Regions from separate parts of the Homo sapiens genome. Here region 1 is linked to region 2. The links are contacts of gene promoters, found by promoter capture Hi-C in human tissues and cell types (Jung and others, 2019). All regions are on one chromosome and are shown on one strand. Each heading gives the region's core, a stretch centred on a gene start or on the middle of the fragment in contact. The rest is flanking DNA. Distances are from core to core; before and after follow the strand shown.

Evidence for each region. Contacts are between HindIII fragments. The study calls those that stand out against the background at their distance.
Region 1: a fragment that was not itself captured here is called in contact with the fragment with the promoter of IL17C in region 2 in 2 of the 25 tissues and cell types used here (mesendoderm cells and thymus).

The regions. Positions count from the first base shown.
Region 1 is chr16:88,545,504-88,552,026 of GRCh38, forward strand. No RefSeq gene overlaps it. Among named protein-coding and RNA genes, the nearest start is that of ZC3H18-DT, 13 kb to the right of the region's middle. The HindIII fragment of the contact is 5,396 bases long and covers 598-5,993 here.
Region 2 is chr16:88,635,541-88,642,409 of GRCh38, forward strand. IL17C (interleukin 17C) reads left to right here and starts at 3,032. Exons shown (of 3, transcript NM_013278.4): 1 at 3,032-3,107; 2 at 3,441-3,769; 3 at 4,274-4,928. The coding sequence starts at 3,102. The coding sequence ends at 4,532. LOC124903755 (a long non-coding RNA gene) reads left to right here. Exons shown (of 2, transcript XR_007065181.1): 1 at 1-1,172; 2 at 1,260-1,894. RefSeq lists enhancers at 1-163, 5,077-5,904. The HindIII fragment of the contact is 16,303 bases long and covers 1-6,869 here.

The DNA of each region.
Region 1 (6,523 bases), core at 2,046-4,545, 90 kb before region 2:
AGCACAGGGAATCTTACCATGGACGCTGCCGGGAGATGCAGGGCCACTCAGGTGTGCACGTACACTGGATTCAAATACAGGCAGCAGACATAGACAACGATGCCGGGAGAGGGGCGGCTGGCAGAAGAATGGCCCCAAAGATGCCTGTGTTTTCATCCCCAGGGGGAGCCTGTGAAGGCGCAGCCTCATGCAGCAGAGGGGAGTTAAGGCTGCAGGGGAAGTTGAGGTTGCTCATCAGCTGACCCAAGATACAGAGATTACCCTGGATCATCCTGGTGGGCACAGCATAATCACAAAGTTCTTATCAGTGGAAGAGGGGTCAGGAAGAATACCAGAGAGGTGGGATGGGAGGACTCAATGGGCTTTGAAGATGGGGGGGGTGCCATGAGCCAAGGAACGGGGAGGCTTCCAGAATAAGCAGCTGGTTCTCCTCAGGAGCTCCCAGCTGGGGCCAGCCCTGCTCACGCCTGGACCTCAGCCAGTGAGACCCGCTTCAGTGAGCCCCACTGGCTCCTGAAGGCTGCTGCACCTGACTCAGGATAGCTGGGACTTGGAGTAGGGTGGGACACAGGGCACAGAGGGCCGGCCAGGGCTGCAAAAAGATCCCGGTGGCACCTCATGAGCTGGGGACAGGGGTCCTGTGCCCGACCATCTTGCGTCTCTTTTTGTTTCTACCTTTGCAATAATAATAATACAAGTAAAGTCAGATAGAAGTTCAGGAAGCATGCACATGGGATGCTCCAGTCTCCAGCCAGCACGAGGAAATCATCACTCTCCAATCAAAGGCAGAGGGCGAACAATGGCGCCATCACGGTGCACTGCAGCCTCAACCTCCTGAGCTCAAGGGGTCCTCCCACCTCAGCCTCCTAGGTGCTGAGGACCACAGGCGTGCAGCACCATTCCCAGCTATTTTTTTTTACTTTTTGTAGAGATGGCATCTCACTATGTTGCCCAGTCTGGTATCCACCTCCTTACTTAAGCAATCTTCCTTCCTCAGCCTCTCAAAGTGCTGGGATTACAGGCATAAGCCACCGCACCCAGGCCCGAGGTTGAGCTTTTGAGTGGCTGTCACCCTACTTTCCACAACAGTCACACCGATTGCTGTTCCCATCAGCAGTGCATGCCAGGCCTCCACATCCCACCAACACATGCTGCAGCACTGTCTGACTTCAGCATCTGAATGCATGAGAAGCGGAGTCTCACTGGGGCTGTAATCTGCATTCTCCAGTGACCGGCAGTGCCACGCAGCATCCCCCTGCTCACTGGCCACTGTATGTCTATGGAGAAACATCTGTCCAGACCCATCGCCCATCTCTGCACCTTTCTGCTCATTTCTAAGGTGAGAAAACAGAGGGTGGACAAGGTGAGGGAAGAGAGGGTGGAGAAGGCGAGGGGACAGAGGGTGGGGAAGGTGAGGGGACAGAGGGTGGAGAAGGTGAGGGGACAGAGGGTGGAGAAGGTGAGGGGACAGAGGGTGGGGAAGGTGAGGGGACAGAGGGTGGAGAAGGTGAGGGGACAGAGGGTGGGGAAGGTGAGGGGACAGAGGGTGGAGAAGGTGAGGGGACAGAGGGTGGAGAAGGTGAGGGGACAGAGGGTGGGGAAGGCGAGGGGACAGAGGGTGGGGAAGGCGAGGGGACAGAGGGTGGGGAAGGCGAGGGGACAGAGGGTGGGGAAGGCGAGGGGACAGAGGGTGGGGAAGGCGAGGGGACAGAGGGTGGGGAAGGCGAGGGGACAGAGGGTGGGGAAGGCGAGGGGACAGAGGGTGGGGAAGGCGAGGGGACAGAGGGTGGGGAAGGCGAGGGGACAGAGGGTGGGGAAGGCGAGGAGAGGGTGGGGAAGGCGAGGGGACAGAGGGTGGGGAAGGCGAGGGGACAGAGGGTGGGGAAGGCGAGGGGACAGAGGGTGGGGAAGGTGACCGGACAGAGGGTGGGGAAGGTGCGGGGACAGAGGGTGGGGAAGGTGCGGGGACAGAGGGTGGGGAAGGTGAGGAGACAGAGGGTGGGGAAGGTGCGGGGACAGAGGGTGGGGAAGGTGACTGGACAGAGGGTGGGGAAGGTGACGGGACAGAGGGTGGGGAAGGCGAGGGGACAGAGGGTGGGGAAGGTGACCGGACAGAGGGTGGGGAAGGCGAGGGGACAGAGGGTGGGGAAGGCGAGGGGACAGAGGGTGGGGAAGGCGAGGGGACAGAGGGTGGGGAAGGCGAGGGGACAGAGGGTGGGGAAGGCGAGGGGACAGAGGGTGGGGAAGGCGAGGGGACAGAGGGTGGGGAAGGCGAGGGGACAGAGGGTGGGGAAGGCGACGGGACAGAGGGTGGGGAAGGCGACGGGACAGAGGGTGGGGAAGGTGAGGGGACAGAGGGTGGGGAAGGTGAGGGAACAGAGGGTGACAACCATCCAAGTGTGAAACTCATGGGTATGTGCTTGGGCTGCAGACACCCTGGCCTCACCCCACCTTGGCCCTTTTGATCCATGAGACTGCACAGTTCCCCTCCTGGACCCTTGGTTCCCCCCACACCCAGGAGGCATAGAACAGGCAGGACATCCTGTGGCCAGAAAGATGATCGGGGGTCTCCAGGGCACGGAGCCCCCACCCACACACTACAGTAGGGATTGACAGCAGCCTGACCGCCACTGCCCTTTCCCCTGTAAGGTGGGGTTCCCAGTGGATGGCCAGAGGGTCCCACCCCAGTGGCTCCAATCCCCACCCTCCACGTCAGCACCAGCCAGGTGGTCACCGTCAATGACCCTGTCACCCTCCCGGGGGAAGGGGCTTCCAGGCCCACAGCCCTGGCAGGTTCATGTGGGGCACTGGCCCTCTTCCTGCCCCACCCACCAGCCCTGTGGTCTGGGCGCCTGGCTCACACCTCCCTTCCTCCCACACGCACCAGCCACAGGCTCCAGGGTCTCAGAGGAACTCCTGGGACATCCCTTTATCTGGCACCAAAGCCCGGGGCAGGGCCTGCATGTTGACCGACTGCCTTCTCTGCTCTGGCTGGGCTGAATAGCTGGGCCCAGCTCCCTCCCGGGGACTCTTCCCCCAGCCAGGGTTCACCTGAAGGCACCAGTGAGGCAGCGCCACCCCGAACAGGGGTCCCCAGACTTTGGAAAAATCACAAACCAGAAAACTGTCGACAATCACTTCCGGGTTAGCATAGGACTCTAACCTTATGTTTTTTCCAGATACTGACATTAATTTTTTTAACTATTGCTCAATAGTCTCAATATCTCATAAAAGCACCTTTTAGCACCAAATACAGTAGGATAGCACAATCTCTGCACAAAAAGCCTTTTACACGAAAGTATTATTTTTTTTAATAGAGACGAGTTCTCCCTATGTTGCCCAAGCTGCTCTCAAACTCCTGGGCTCAAGCGATCCACCTGCCTTGGCCTCCCGAAGTGCTGGGATTACAGGCGTGAGCCACCGCGCCCGGCCCACATGAATGATTTATTCCACTTGGCGCTCCTTTTCCTCGTTTCACTGTACATCGATGAAGACATTGGCACCAACGCACAGGTCCATGGATCAGAGTTGAGGAAAGTCTGTTCCAATCTTAACCCTTTTGGTGCTGGCTTTGTTTTACTGAAGACGAAACAGAGGGTCCAAGTGGTTACATCCCGAGCGCCGGCAGTGGCTGCACGAGGCAGGACTGCCTCCAGCTCTAACTGTACTGCACCTGCACCCACCAGCCAGGGTCCGCCGCTTTCAGCCGGAATCCATAGACAATTCACACGGCAAAGAGAGGAGACCAAGCTTGGGTTTCAAAATGAGCTGAAATATCAAAGCAGAATAAAGTCACTTCTTTAAACGTGGGGCCATTTCAGAGTTAATTTCACAAAAGGAGACATCGTGTTGCTTCAAACTGCTGTGCAAACATCAGAGTGACTCGTTATCTAAGTCTCAGTCAGAAACACTGGCAGTCACTTCTGATCTGCGTTAGATTGTAAGTCATTTGTTCTCCTCTAAATAGCAACAAGAGGCCGGGCATGGTGGTTCATGCCTGTAATCCCAACACTTTGGGAGGCCGAGGCAGGTGGATCACAAGGTCAAGAGATCAAGACCATGCTGGCCAACATGGTGAAGCCCTGTCTCTACTAAAAATACAAAAATTAGCCGGGTGTGGTGATGCGCACCCATAATACCAGCTACACGGGAAGCTGAGGCAGAAGAATCACTTAAACCTGGGAGGCAGAGGTTGCAGTGAACCGAGATCACGCCACTGCACTCCAGCCTGGGGACAGAGCGAAACTCCATCTCAAAAAAAAAAGAAAAAAAGAAAAGAAACTCTGAAGTCAGTCTGAAGCCTGGGAGGGACAAAGGTGTTTTGCAGGTTCCTGCAGCTCAGGCACCCAGCGGGGGCTCACTTGAGAGGGTTAAGAGGGTGAGTGCCTGGGAGGAGCCTTCAATCAAAACTTAGCTGTAGCTGAGTCCAACTGTGTGGTACCTCCCCAGCACAGCCCTCTGACCTGGGAACAGGCCCAGAGAACACAGAGGGAGTGAAGGTTGGTTATCTCCCCCTGAGGTCTGCGCTCCTACCCCTGGCTCCTGATCCGAGCCCTTGCTGTCAGAGAAGACAGGAACCTCACACTTCCTGAACACGCGCAATGCCCCTACCAAAACACGGGAGCTGCAGGCGGGCCTTTGGTCTTCTTCTGCTCCGTGCCCATTGCCATCTTCCAGAAGACACACATCATGCCTGTTCTCTCCTTCCACGCCAGGCCAGGGGAGAGGGTGGCCCCCACCCCAACCCCAACTCTGCTCCAACCGAAGGAGCCTCCTCCTGTGTGCACCCCCGTCCCCAGCACGGCGCAGCTCTACCACCAAACAGACAAAGCACAGCCAGCTCTGATTGACCCAGGGAGGCCGGGGACCTTGCCCTCTGGAGCAGCCCACATGGCCCACGGATGGCGCAGTGGCCCCCACACAGAAGGCTGCCCTTGGGCTCCTTTCCGGAGCGGCATGGCCCGGAGGAAGTGGCCAGGTAGCAAGGCCAGGCTACAGTGAGGCTGGCGGAAAGAAGAGGAAATGGGCGTGGACACCATCTGCCGGACTCAGAGCCCTGGGGACTCAGGCAGTCTGACAGCAACCTTGGCCCATGAAAACACGGAGCCTAAGGGGCTCCCGGGAGAGGACAGTCCAGGCTCCGAGCCCAGCTCAGATGAGAGGCTGCCCGGATAATGACCTTCAGAGGGCTCTGCTCATCATTACATGAAATTATGCAAATGAGACTTTATGTATTTATTTAAGAGTCTCTGTTGCCCAGGTTGGAGTGCAGTGGTGTGATCTGGGCTCATTGCAATCTCCACCTCCCAGGTTCAAGTAATTCTCATGCCTCAGCCTCCCAAGTAGATGGGATTACAGGCGTGAGCCACCGTGCCTGGCCAAGACTCTTTTAAAATGCGAATTCAGGCCAGGCGAGGTGGCTCAGGCCTGTAACCCCAGCACTTTGGGAGGCCGAGGCAGGTGGATCACCTGAGGTCAGGAGTTCAAGACCAGCCTGGCCAACAGGGTGAAACCCCGTCTCTACTAAAAATACAAAAATTAGCTGGGTGTGGTGGTGTGGGCCTATAATCCCAGCTACTTGGGAGGCTGAGGCAGGAGAATTGCTTGGACCCAGGAGGTGGAGGTTGCCGTGAGCTGAGATCACGCCACTGCACTCCAGCTTAGGCAACAGAGCGAGACTCCGTCTCAAAAAACAAAAAACAACAACAAAAAAAAACCCACCCCATTAGCAGCCGCCTGCCTCTCCCCCTCCCCAGCCCAGACACCCCCAGTCCTTACCCCTGCTGTGGCTTTGCCTGTTGTGTGCATTCTGGAGACACAGAGGCACACGCATGTAGCCTCTCGTGACCGGCATCTTTCACTCTGCAGAAGGGTCTCAAGGTTCGTCCCAATGTAGCCTGTGTCAGCGTTCCACTCCTTTTTATGGCTGAAGAATTTTCCAGGCACAGATGGACCCCATTTCGTTTTTCCATTCACTCATCAATGAGCACCTGGTCTTGTCACATTTTTATTTTTCATTTACTTATTTATTTACTTTTTGAGACAGGGCCTCACCCTGTCACCCTGGAGTGAGGGTGGAGTGCAGTGGTGTGATCTCAGCTCACTACCACCTCAAATTCCTGGGCCCAAGTCATCCTCCCGCCTCAGCCTCCCGAGTACTTGGGACTACAGGTGTGCACCACCACACCCGGCTAATTGCTCTGTCGCCCAGGCTGGAGTGCAGTGGTGCAATCTCGGCTAACTGCAACTTCCGCCTCCTGGGTTCAAGCGATTCTCCTGCCTCAGCCTCCTGAGTAGCTGGGATTACAGGCGTGCACCACCATACGTGGGTAATTTTTGTTTTTGTTTTTGTTTTAGTAGAGATGTGTTTTCACTATGTTGGTCAGGCTGGTCTTGGACTTCTAACCTCAAGCAATCCACCTGCCTTAGCCTCCCAAATTGCTGGGATTATAGGCATGAGCCACCACACCAGGCCTGATTTTTTTTATTTATATTTTTTGCAGAGATGGGGGCCTCACTGTGT
Region 2 (6,869 bases), core at 1,782-4,281:
GGCCAGGCCCGGCCATGCTGAGCCCGGTGACTCGTCAGGGTTTCCACAAAACATCTTGAGCACCCAGCTGCAGGCCCCTCGGGACGTTTCCAATGAGGCTCCCCTGGGCCCCTCTCTGTGGCAGAAGGGACCCCGGGGCTGCTTCGTAGGTCTCAACCCAGGGGAGGCCCCCAGAGACTCCGGAGCCAGGGAGGGGCCCAGCCCCCTACCCCCAGGCTGTGCTTGGCATGCAGAGATTGCGGGGGGTCTTGAGTTTTTGTCCCCAGAAGAATGGCTGAGTGGACTCTGGAGAAAAGACAAACACCCCTGCCCCACTGCCGCCGCCCTGTCTCCCAACAGTAAGAGTGCTTGTCAGCCTCCTGGCGGCAGGTGCTGCGGCCTGCGACCACCTGAGCCAGGCAGGTGATGCTAATGCGCCTCAGGGCAGCCCTGGCACTGGAGCTGCTATCATCCCACTGTACCCATGGGGAGAGCCGCTCTCCTCCCTCCTTTTTCCATTCTGTGTTATTTACAGAGCACCCTCCTGTATGCCCTGCACTACTCTCAACCCTGGGTACACAGATGGGGCTGCCACAGACGTGGCCCTCAAGGCGCTCAGGCCGCCTTTTGGGGAGGGCCGTGAGGGGCTGGAATTTTTCTGAGACAGCCAAGCGCCCGTGCAGAGAGGCCTGTATCAGCCCAGCCTAAGGCAGGGCCAACCCACACAGGAGCACCTGTCCTGCTGGGGATGCAGTGGGTTCTGCTGTGTCCTGGAAAAGGCTCTACCCACACCCTAACCCAACCTGTGAACGCGCGCTCATTTGGAAAAGGGGCTTTTGCTTTGATGTAATTAGGGAAAGGATCTTGAGATGGCTCATCCTGGGTTAAGGCAGGTCCCACGTCCTGAGAAGGGGGGAGGGATTATCTTTTAGACTGGGCCCTACATCCAACAACCAGTGTCCTTATAAACCACAGAAGAGGAAAAGGCGGGTGCAGCAGAGAGGCCACGGGAGGAGCCGCCAGCCCGGGAAACTGAGGGCTGGAAGAGCCTCCAGGAGGACCCAGCCCTGAACACGCCCAGCTCCACGGCCTCGTGGAATAAACTTCTCCCATTTCACACCCCCCAGTTTGTGGTGCATGGTTAGCACAGCCCTAGGAAACCAGCACGGATAGTGAGCTCCCCGTCACAGGAGGTATGCAAGCAGAGGGTGGGTGGGCAGGGGCACTGTCGGGAGGAGCAGCCCTGGGGACTCCAGCAATCTGTCTTTGATTCCTCCCAGACTGTTAACCCTGGGGCACAGCCTCCTTCACCCCCAGAGGCCCACAGCAGACAAGCTGAGAGCCACACAGCGGCCAAGAGGAGGTGCTGGAGGGCCCAGGGGTCCCAGTGCTGCCTCAGCCCCACCCGACTTGGGAGCTTTTGTGTTCAGAGAGACTGAGGTTTTCAGCTTAGAGGACACCTCCGTGGAACACATCTGCACCGCGGCAGGGGAGGAAAGGCTGGGGGCACACAAGCACCCTCCCTCCCGCCCTCACCCCGAAGCTGAGGGGACCAGGGCGGACAGATTCCCCCACCTCTGATGTGGCCAGGGGCCCTGGGGACTCCAGGACAACCCTCCTCAGGATGACGTCAAACCCCCGGCATTCAAACCTTCCCAAGTTCTGGCTGCAGCTGTCCCTTTCCGGGGAAACAAAGGCACCTCCAGCGCCCCCACCCCCAGCCAGCCTCACCGATCAAGGAGGCCAAAGGCAGCTCCCGGCCCCGCTTACATAAAGCTTCCTGTGTGTGCTGGTCACACCTCACACCTCACGCCTCACGCCTCATGCCTCATTCACACCTCACACCTCACTCCTCACACCTCCAACTCAGACTTTTTAGCTTGAACTTTTTTCTCAATAAAACCACAGAAGCCCAGGCCGGGTGCAGTGACTCATGCCTGTGATCCCAGCACTTTGCGAGGCCGAGGTGGGCAGATCACGAGGTCAGGAGATCGAGACCATCCTGGCTAACATGGTGAAACCCCGTCTCTACTAAAAATACAAAAAAATTAGCCAGGTGTGGTGGCGGGCGCCTGTAGTCCCAGCTACCCGGCAGGCTGAGGCAGGAGAATGGCGTGAACCCAGGAAGCTGAGCTTGTAGTGAGCCGAGATCGCACCACTGTACTCCCCGCCTGGGCGACAGAGTCAGACTCCGCCTCAAAAAAACAACAAAAAAAAAAACAACACAGAAACCCAACAGAGACCTGAAGACGTGCCTGCCTCCCCCATCTCCGGGACCTCTCCCACCTGGGTGAAGGGGGCACGTGAGCCTCACCTGATCTTGACCATCTCAGCTAAAACACTGAACCACCCTTGGCACCCACCAGCAGCAGACGGAGAAGAACTGTATAGGGTGCAAAAGCGCCCCGCCACCATCAGGTCCAGATGAAAACCTACAAGTTGAATCAGCAAGGTGCTGACGGATACGCAAGCAGAAACCCTCTTATAGGAGGTTCAAGGCTGGGCGCAGTGGCTCACTCCTGTAATCCCAGCACTTTGGGAGGCCAAGGCGAGCAGATCACTTGAGGTCAGGAGCCTCAGACCAGCCTGGCCGATATGGCAAAACCCTGTCTGTACTAAAAATACAAAAATTAGCCAGGCATGGTGGGGGGTGCCTGTAATCCCAGCTACTCGGAAGCCTGAGGCAGGAGAATCGCTTGAACCTGGGATGTGGAGGTTGCAGTGAGCTGGGACAGCACCATTTCCCTCCAGCTCGGGTGACAGCAAGACCCTGTCTCAAAAAAAAAAAAAAAGTTTGAGAATGTCAGACAAGGCAGCACCCTGTGTAGGTGCTCAGGTTGGGCGGAGTCTCTCTCGGGGGAGGGGGGTAACAGGACAGCGCCTCCCGGGGCCTCCTTGCATGTCTGTGTCCTGATGCACAGCAGGCGGGGGCTGCGGGGACCAGAGAAGGAAGAAGCGCCCCAGCTGGGCACTTCCCGAGGAGGAAGTGGTGCCGGAATTTCCCCCAGGTGTGGCCTCAGGTATAAGAGCGGCTGCTGCCAGGTGCATGGCCAGGTGCACCTGTGGGATTGCCGCCAGGTGTGCAGGCCGCTCCAAGCCCAGCCTGCCCCGCTGCCGCCACCATGACGGTGAGCCTCTCCACATGCCGCTCGGATGGATGCTGCTTGGATGTGCAGCCTGGCATGGAAGGGCTGGGGTTCTCTGAGCCTGGGAGGAGGGTGTTGGGATGGGGTCTGGGAAACCCCTCAGTCTGGGGGTAGGGGAGGCAGCTGCAGATCCTCGGAGCGCTGGCATGCTGGGTGTCTTGGGCTGAAGGGCTAGCCTCTCTGGGCTTCAGTTTCCCCATCTATAGAGGGAGGGCTGTACTCCATCTTTCCGCTGGGAACAAGGAAAGCTGAGGTGGAAGTGAGGTGCCCCCTGCCCTGGGCACCTCCTAACCACCCACCTGCCTGTTTCACCAGCTCCTCCCCGGCCTCCTGTTTCTGACCTGGCTGCACACATGCCTGGCCCACCATGACCCCTCCCTCAGGGGGCACCCCCACAGTCACGGTACCCCACACTGCTACTCGGCTGAGGAACTGCCCCTCGGCCAGGCCCCCCCACACCTGCTGGCTCGAGGTGCCAAGTGGGGGCAGGCTTTGCCTGTAGCCCTGGTGTCCAGCCTGGAGGCAGCAAGCCACAGGGGGAGGCACGAGAGGCCCTCAGCTACGACCCAGTGCCCGGTGCTGCGGCCGGAGGAGGTGTTGGAGGCAGACACCCACCAGCGCTCCATCTCACCCTGGAGATACCGGTGAGGACCTGGGGATTCCGCTGTGGCGTGGGGCTGCCCCTCCCCTGGCGGGGCCCTGACTGCCCGGAGAGCTCTCTGGGCCTTGGTGGTTCTCACCTGTCAAGTGGGCGTGGCCACCTGAGCTCCCTCCCTCCGGCCCTCCTGACCTGGACGGCTGAGCTGCTGCTTGCGGCTGGCCGTGCCCTGCCTCCCACTGTCCTAGGTGGCCAGGGTCCCCTGGGGAAATTCTGGGCCCGTCACCTGAGCTCCTGCAGAAGTGGGGCTGGGTGATGAAGTGGAAGGGAGGCTCCTAGAGGCCTCCGGACCCTGCTCTGTGCTCTTGGAGGGCCCTGGGGAGACGTGGATTACCACCACATGTGAGCCCGACTGCACCCCAAGCCCGTGTGGCTCAGCCCTCGCTGCCTCAGGTCCTATCCTGAGTACACGGAGAGGGGCCCTGAGGGGAGAGGGGCCTCCAGGAGGACAGGGTAGGGCCAGAGACTCACTGTGCACCCCGTCCCGCAGTGTGGACACGGATGAGGACCGCTATCCACAGAAGCTGGCCTTCGCCGAGTGCCTGTGCAGAGGCTGTATCGATGCACGGACGGGCCGCGAGACAGCTGCGCTCAACTCCGTGCGGCTGCTCCAGAGCCTGCTGGTGCTGCGCCGCCGGCCCTGCTCCCGCGACGGCTCGGGGCTCCCCACACCTGGGGCCTTTGCCTTCCACACCGAGTTCATCCACGTCCCCGTCGGCTGCACCTGCGTGCTGCCCCGTTCAGTGTGACCGCCGAGGCCGTGGGGCCCCTAGACTGGACACGTGTGCTCCCCAGAGGGCACCCCCTATTTATGTGTATTTATTGTTATTTATATGCCTCCCCCAACACTACCCTTGGGGTCTGGGCATTCCCCGTGTCTGGAGGACAGCCCCCCACTGTTCTCCTCATCTCCAGCCTCAGTAGTTGGGGGTAGAAGGAGCTCAGCACCTCTTCCAGCCCTTAAAGCTGCAGAAAAGGTGTCACACGGCTGCCTGTACCTTGGCTCCCTGTCCTGCTCCCGGCTTCCCTTACCCTATCACTGGCCTCAGGCCCCCGCAGGCTGCCTCTTCCCAACCTCCTTGGAAGTACCCCTGTTTCTTAAACAATTATTTAAGTGTACGTGTATTATTAAACTGATGAACACATCCCCAGAGGCCAACATTCAATGCGACATTCTCCCGTTCAGCCCTGGTCCAGGCCAGCCATGGACCCAATTCTGGGGTGTCCTTCCAGAAAGGTCTACGCAGCCGCGAGCAGTGCATGCAGGTGGGACTGAGCTGTAGCACGGGGGGGTCACAGGTGTCCCTGCTCTGCCCACACAGTGTCTCCCCTGAGGACACCCCTGGGAACAGGAACCAGCCTCCTTCCTCAAGCAGTGCCTTGAGCCCTATGCTTTGTAATGATGTGAGCGCCTAGGGGCACCCTCTCGGCCCCCAAGGCAAGTCTCTGAGGATGAACTGCAGGGCTGTCGGCTCAAGGCAGGGCCCCCAGCCTTCGTGGTTCGGATCAACATCCAAGGCCAAGCGCCCTCCCTGATGGTGAACTAGCCACGCTTCGGGACCCAGGCTCTGTTGGAGATTTTAGTTAAGGGGCCCCGGGGGGAGCAGCCCCAGTCGTGGAAAGGGGGCCCAGGCCTGTGACAGTCTCAGGGTCTCAGTCTCTAGGCCCCCGGCCCCAAGGGCTGACATTGCCATGGGGCTGCTGGGCAGTTGTTAGCCCCTCCCCTGCCTGGCCCCCTGGCTCACCCACCTACTGCGTCCAGGTGCCTGGAGATGGGGGTGGGGGTGCTGCACAGAAGAACAAGGACTCCACTCAGACTCCCAAAGCAAGAGGCCTCAGGGAAGACTTCCTGGAGGTGGTGGCCCTTGTCCAGGAGATGGAATTTTCATTCAACACATTTATTGAGTTTCTTTTCTTTCTTGAAAAAGGGTCTCGCTCTGTTGCCCAGGCTGGAGTGCAGTGTGGTATGACTTCAGCTCACTGCCACCCCCACCTTCTGAGTTCAAGCGATCCTCCCAGCTCAGCTTCCCAGTACAGGCGTGCACCACCACACCCAACTCATATTTGTATTTTTAGTGGAGGCGGGGTTTCGCCATGTTGGCCAGGTTGGTCTCGAACTCCTGAGCTCAAGTGATCCTCCCACCTCGGCCTCCCAGAGTGCTGGGATTACAGGCGTGAGCCACCGCACCCAGCCATATGAGTTTCTACTAAGCACCTGGCACTGGGAACAGGCCGAGAACAAAATGGTGAAAACCCTTCCTGCCTCCACGGTGACTAATGAAACAAGTGGTGTGTAGTCTGTGAGTGAGTCCAGGACAGAGGCTCTGGGGGAGGGGCTGCAGTTCTTTTTTTTTTTTTTGAGGAGTCTCGCTCTGGCCCAGGCTGGAGTGCAATGGTGCGATCTCGGCTCACTGCAAGCTCCGCCTCCCGGGTTCACACCATTCTCCTGCCTCAGCCTCCTGAGTAGCTGGGACTACAGGCGCCCGCCACCACGCCCGGCTAATTTTTTGTATTTTTAGTAGAGACGGGGTTTCACCGTGTTAGCCAGGATGGTCTCGATCTCCTGACCTCATGATCTGCCCGCCTCGGCCTCCCAAAGTGCTGGGATTACAGGCGTGAGCCACCGCGCCCGGCCAAGGGGCTGCAGTTCTAAGCAGAGGGTCAGGGAGGCCTCGAAGACCTGAAGGGGAGGAGGAAGGAGCCAGGCAGCCATGCAGGGAACAGCTCCAGGCAGCAGGAAGAGCCCATGCAAAGGCCCTGAGAAGACACATGCTGCGTGTGTCCAAGGGTCAGAGAGTGGCCTGCGTGGCTGATGCCAGGTGAGAGGGGGACCGCAGGGGCAGGGCAGGGCGCTGGGGGTGCAGATCATGTCTGCCCTGGGGCCATCAGAAGCTTGTGGCTGTCACTGGAGGTAGCTGAGCCTGTGGGTTCTGAGCCTGCGGATTCTGAGCCGGAGGCACTGGGGTGAGGCTTTGGGTTTCAATGGCAGCATCAGGATGGTTTCAGGGGATGAGGGCAGAGCGGGAGGCGGCAGGTGGCCTGGGTGGGGATGGCCCATGTAGCTGGGGTCTGGATTTGGGCCAGGA